Regions from separate parts of the Homo sapiens genome. Here region 2 is linked to region 1. Evidence: promoter capture Hi-C in 16 types of primary human blood cells and fetal thymus (Javierre and others, 2016). All regions are on one chromosome and are shown on one strand. Each heading gives the region's core, a stretch centred on a gene start or on the middle of the fragment in contact. The rest is flanking DNA. Distances are from core to core; before and after follow the strand shown.

Region 1 (3,073 bases), core at 383-2,882:
CATTGGTTGCTGAAATGAACCATGCCTTCCAGTATTGGAAGGGACCCTGGCATAGTCCCCTCCCCTTGAATTGGGGCTAGCCCTTCTACTTGCTTTAACCAAGAATATAGCCAAGGTGCTAGTTCTGCACCTACGCTTTAAGAAGGCCTGGCAGCTTCCACTTTTGCCCTTTTGGGAGCCCCGAGCCAACATGTAAGAAGTATTCTGGCGGGGCACGATGGCTCATGCCTGTAATCTCAGTACTTTGGGAGGCCGAGGCGGGTGGATCATCTGAGGTCAGGAGTTTGAGACCAGCCTGGCCAACAGGATGAAACCCCGTCTCTACTAAAAATACAAAAAATTAGCTGGGCATGGTGGCGGGCGCCTGTAATCTCAGCTACTCAGCTACTTGGGAGGCTGAGGCAAGAAAATCGCTTGAACCCAGGAGGCAGAGGTTGCATGCAGTGAGCCGAGATGGCGCCATTGCACTCCAGCCTGGGCAATAAGAAACTCCATCTCGGGGGAAAAAAAAAATGTCATCCTACTCTGCTAGACAAATTACATGGAAAGGCCACGTGGACAGGGAGAGAACTTGGACTACAGGGAGAGAGACCCAGTTCTTTCAGCGGAACCAGCCCCCACTTGTTGCTATGACCACTGGCAAGACCAGCAGAACGGGTGGGCTAATCCCAGCCCAGATTGCAGAACTGTGAGCAAGTAAAATGGTGGTTGTTTTAAGTCTTACGTTTTGGGGCGGTTTGTTACACAACAGATTATGAAAACACCTCCTCAGCTTTCCTTGGGTGACTACTGGTACTCACTTGTGTATAAGTCTCCATTCCTTAATCCTTACTATCTCCCAATTTTATGGTAATAGTTTGCCAGAAGCGTTCACATTAACGACGAGGACGTAGGCAGGCCCCCCCTTTTTTTTTTTTTTTTGAGACAGAGTCTTGCTCTTTCGCTCAGGCTGGAGTGCAGTGGTGCGATCTTGGCTCACTGCAACCTCCGCTTCCCGGATTCAAGCGATTCTCCTGCCTCAGCCTCCCGAGTAGCTGGGATTACAGGCGCCCGCCACCACGCCCGGCTAATTTTTGTATTTTTAGTAGAGACGGGGTTTCACCATGTTGTCCAGGCTGGTCTTGAACTCCTGACCTCAGGTGATCTGCCCGCCTCAGCCTCCCAAAGTGCTGGGATTACAAGCGTGAGCCGCCGCGTCCGGCCGGATCCTCAGTTCTTTCGCTGTAAACGAGAGTACTCTTCCCCAACCCACAGGCTTATATCTCTTACAATTCAGTGAGTGAGACATCGGCTGAGGACACACCTGTTGCACAAAAAGGGCTCACTGCACGCCATCACACCCAAGTCTCGTACCCTCATCTTCATAACCTGCCCAATCCCAGTGAGTGTGAGAGGTAAGTCTGCAGCAGGGCCCGGAAAACTTGTTTCTTTTTCTTTTAAATAAGTTTTCTCGCGAATTCGAACGCATGTCCTCCTCCTGCCATACCTCAAAGGACTCCGCTCGTCACCACGCCCCCGCGCCTTCTGTTAGGAGCAGCAAACCCCAGGTGTCGCGAGGGTTTCTTCTTTCTTCAAGATCAGCCACAGGTCGCGCGAGAGGGATGTGTCCAATCACGAGGCTAGATGGCTTCACAAGATGGCGGCGCGCTGGGAGCGTATCATCTGCGTTTCTAGGAGCTTCGCTATGCGGCTGCTTTAAGATTCTAGGGTTGTACAGGCCCACGCCAGACACGACGTCTGGCAGGAACCTCGGCCTCAGAGGTGGGTCACTTATATCTCTCACGCAGATTTACTATCATGGGTCACTTAACCCGTGGATCACACGGGTTCCTCATTCTTGAGTTTTGGGCTAGTGAGGTGCCGACTTCGGGGTCTAGGAGGGGAGACCTGATGTGGCTGTGTGTGCGCACGCGGGGGTGTTGAGAGTGGATGAGTGGGAGGAGTTGGCGAATAGAATAGAGACTAGGACTGAAGTAGGAAAGACTCCCCGGTGTTTAGGAGGTTTAGAGAGATCCAAAACTGAGGCGGGAAGACAAACTGAGCTGATAAAATGAGGGCATGGAAAGAACGGCAGTGGCAGGACTAGTGGGAAACGTCGGATTTATGAGAGAAGGCGAAGAGAGAAGATGTAGATTGGTGTGGAAGTGGGAGGGATCTGTGCAGAAAGAATTTGAAGTTCTGAAATTGGAATTTAGACTGTTTTACAGGCTGTGTATCAAGAGAGTGGTAGTTGAAGAGGGTTAATGGTCAAGAGGAACCAAGGAAACAGAAGCATGGAGATGAGAAAGAAAAAAAAAAAAAGGGAAAGCCTCATTCTCAGGGTTCTACTATTAACTGTGGCTTTCTGGACTGACTCAAGTAACCGGGAAGAAAAGTTCCAGTCCATGGGCTGAGCTTTTTTTGAAACTCAGTGAGGGTGCTTTGTGTCGGTGGTCCAGACAGGGAAGAGTTCTATCGTGGTTTCAATCAACAAATACTTGAGTGCCTACTCTCTTAGGCCCTATTTTAGGCGTTGGGATATGCGGTGAACAAGACAGACAAAATATTTACCCTCTTGAAACTTACTGACGGGAGATTTTTTAAAGTAAGTAAAATATATGGAATGCCAGATGGGTAAATTCTGTGTAGAAAATTGAAGCTAGAGCCTGGGTAGCAAAGCCAGACTCCCTTTCTACAAAAAATGAAGTAAATTAACCAGGTGCAGTGCTCTGTACCTGTAGTCCCAGCTGCTTGGGAGGCTCAGGCGGGAGGATTGCTTGATCTCAGGAGTTGGAGGCTGCAGGGAGCTATGATTCCATCATTGCACTCTGGGCAACAGAATGGAAGACCTTGTCTCAACAAGAAGAAAAAAAAAAGAATTGATGCCCAGTTAAACTCTGAAGAATAGGTTATATTTAGCTAAGAACTCATTGCCTATATTGGGAGGTTAGTTAGAAAAGAAGTGGTTGTATTTACTCATTCTGTATCTGTTCTGACCAGAAAAGTTGAATAATGTAGGAAATGAATCGAATCTGCCATGTCTGTAATTTAATTTGTTTCACATATATTCAGAGTATTATGTTGTGTGTGCACT
Region 2 (3,073 bases), core at 258-2,757, 68 kb before region 1:
GTTATCTTATAGATTAAAATTTGTTGACAAGTTAATATTTTCAAACTATAGCGTTCAATGAAAAAGTCACAAAACAGTTTGTGCAATATGATAACGATAAAAATGTAAATAAGTAGTTCTCAATTGCCCGTTAACTTTAGTTTGGTCAAATGTAGTCTAGTCTAAGGGTAAATTCTTTTTGAAGCTCAAGTGAAAATGCCTATCCAAATGTAAGCTTAACTAACACTGACATCCAAGCTAAGCTACCAGGACTGCATGCAAATATAAAACTCAGAGATGATCCTGGCATAAAAAGAAATGCCTGTTCTGGGACCTTAAAATTAGGCTTCTTAATGAAATTAACAGCTGTTTGAAAAACATCTCTCTGCTTGTTTACAAAGATCACAAGCTTTGCCAGGGTATCTCAGGATTGTTTTAAGCGTCCCCAGGGATCCTGGGAGCCCCATATTGCTTTTCTCATTTAGACGCTTACCCAGTGGTTGGAAGAATCCAAGCAAGATGCTTTCAGCTAAACATTGCAGTGTCCTCGGCAAAAAGGAGGGCCAGTGTTAGCTCTGTGACAATTCCCTGTTTTCCCAAACCATGAATCAGCCCCATTGTCTCACCCGCCTCTGTGCATCATTCATTCTGTTCATCCCAGCTAACGGCAAAGGCAGGAACATGGCAGAGAAACTAAAACTCCTATTTAATTCTGCTGGTAAAGAGAGTCAGGATTTCTCATGGGCTGCTTTGGAGAAATGTCTGGAAATGTGTCAGAAAGCTGATTTTATGGAAGGTTCATTTATTTACAGTAAACTTAAATGTACTATAAATTCCTAATTTACAAACAAATACCTGGCAATTGACCAGCATTTTTCATCCGAAGGTAAGAAGCCTCCAAATGTGAATATATAAGCATTTTCTGGCACGATATCATGTCAGTTTTTTTCCTCCCCTCCTCCACTGCCTTTTCTTCCTCCCAGTTTCTCCTCTCTGCTCCTTCCCAGCTGGAAACAAATGATAGTTTAACCTGGATAATACCCTCCCTTGTTCACTTTGTATAGCTAATGTTCACTCAGCTGGCCTAAACCTTTCATGCGATTTATTTTATAAGGAACAGAAGAGGGGAGGATTCCGTCTCTGGCTCACAGCACCCATTGCCAAGAAAGTCAGCTCTGCTTCTCAGTCCCCATGGGCTGGGTCCAAGACTTGTCTTTCTACTCCATGATAACTCTTTTTACCTCTATTGTGGTAGGTAGGACTCTTTGGTTCTAAAGAACAGAAACCCATTTGAGTGAGCCTAAGGGAAAAAAAAAGGGCAGTTTTGAAAGGATAGAGAGGTGCTTTCATAGCACTGATGGACAGGTATGCAGCAGGGTCCTGAAAGCATCTGGAACCAGGACCAGCAAAGCAATCTTTGTCATTTCTTTTCTTTTCTTTTTTTTTTTTTTTTGAGACGGAGTCTTGCTCTGTTGCCCAGGCTGGAAAGCAGTGACACGATCTCGGCTCACTGCAACCTCTGCCTCCCGGGTTCAAGCGATTTTCATGCCTCAGCCTCCCAAGTATATGGGATTACAGGCATGGGTCATTATGCCTGGCTAATGGCTCACACCTGTTATCTCAGCACTTTGGGAGGGTAAGGAGAGCTGATCACTTGAACCCAGGAGTTGGAGACCAGGGCTAGCAAAACCCCAGCTCTTTGAAACAAAGACAAAAATTAGCTGGGCATGGTGGTGTGCACTTGTAGTCCCAGCTACTCGGGAGGCTGAGGTGGGAGGATTGATTGAGCCCAGAAGGTCAGGGCTGTAGTAAGCTGTGATCCTGCCGCTGCACCCCAGCCTGGGAGATAGAGCAAGAGCCTATCTCAAAATAATAATAATAATAATAATAATAATAATAATAATAATAATAACTTTAAAAATATAGTAAACTGCCTATTTTCCAAAGTGGCTGTACCCTTTTCACATTCCCACTTGCAATGTATATGTATGAAACTTCCAGTTATTCTGTATCCTCTACAACATTTCGTATTATGAATTTATTTAATTTAATTAATTAATTTATTTATTTTGAGACGGAGTCTCGCTCTGTCACCCAGGCTGGAGTACAGTGGCAAAATCTCGGCTCACTGCAAGCTCCGTCTCCCGGGTTCACACCATTCTGCTGCCTCAGCCTCCCGAGTAGCTGCGACTACAGGCACCTGCCACCATGCCCGGCTAATTTTTTTCGTATTTTTTTAGGAGAGACGGGGTTTCACCGTGTGAACCTCGTGATCCGCCCGCCTTGGCCTCCCAAAGTGCTGGGATTACAGGCATGTGCCACCACGCCCGGCTTATTTTTATTTTAACCACTCTAATAAGTACGTGGTGGTATCTCATTATGGTTTTAATTTGCACCCGATGGCTAATGACATTGAACTTTTTTTCATGTACTTGCCATCTTTTTCTCTTACCTAGTGGAGATCTATTTATATATTTTGCCCACTTTTTTCCTTTTTTTAATTTTTAATAGAGATGGGGGGAGGTCTCACTATGTTGGCCAGGCTGGTCTCGAACTGTTAGCCTCAAGTGATCTGCCCGCCTCAGCCTCCCAAAGCACTGGGATTACAGATGTGAGCCACCACACCCAGCCCCGGATACAAAGCTTTTATCAGATGTGTGTTTTTAAAATATTTTCTTTCAATTTGTGTCTTGTCTTTTCATTTTCTTAACAGTGTTTTTGGAGGGCAGAGGTTTTCATTTATTGAGTCTAATTGAAACATTTTTTACGGTTCATGTTTTTTGTGTGTCTTATCTATGAAATTTTTGCCTGTCCATAAGTTATAAATATTTTCTTCTGAAAGTTTATAGCTTTAAGTTTAAATTTAGGGGTATGATTCATTTCAGGTTCATTTTTGTATATGGTACACATTATGGATCATGGTTCCCTTTCTTACATATTAATATCCAATTGTTCCAGCACCATTTGCAGAAATCAACTTGTTCTTAACTACCACATTATGTTGTATACAACAGTTATCCTCCCTATTTGTACCAAAGTCTGGTGAGGTTTGTGGATATACAAGTGACACACTTCGCTATTCTGTACAATTTGC

The links. The method cuts DNA at HindIII sites, captures the fragments that hold promoters and counts their contacts. A CHiCAGO score of 5 or more calls a contact.
Region 2: a fragment that was not itself captured here is called in contact with the fragment with the promoter of METTL16 in region 1 in 1 of 17 cell types (endothelial precursors); the score reaches 5.5 in endothelial precursors.

The regions. Positions count from the first base shown.
Region 1 is chr17:2,510,447-2,513,519 of GRCh38, reverse strand. METTL16 (methyltransferase 16, RNA N6-adenosine) reads left to right here and starts at 1,632. Exons shown (of 10, transcript NM_024086.4): 1 at 1,632-1,761. RefSeq lists enhancers at 1,432-1,481, 1,552-1,761. The HindIII fragment of the contact is 19,706 bases long and covers 1-3,073 here.
Region 2 is chr17:2,578,315-2,581,387 of GRCh38, reverse strand. No RefSeq gene overlaps it. Among named protein-coding and RNA genes, the nearest start is that of PAFAH1B1, 14 kb to the left of the region's middle. The HindIII fragment of the contact is 2,234 bases long and covers 391-2,624 here.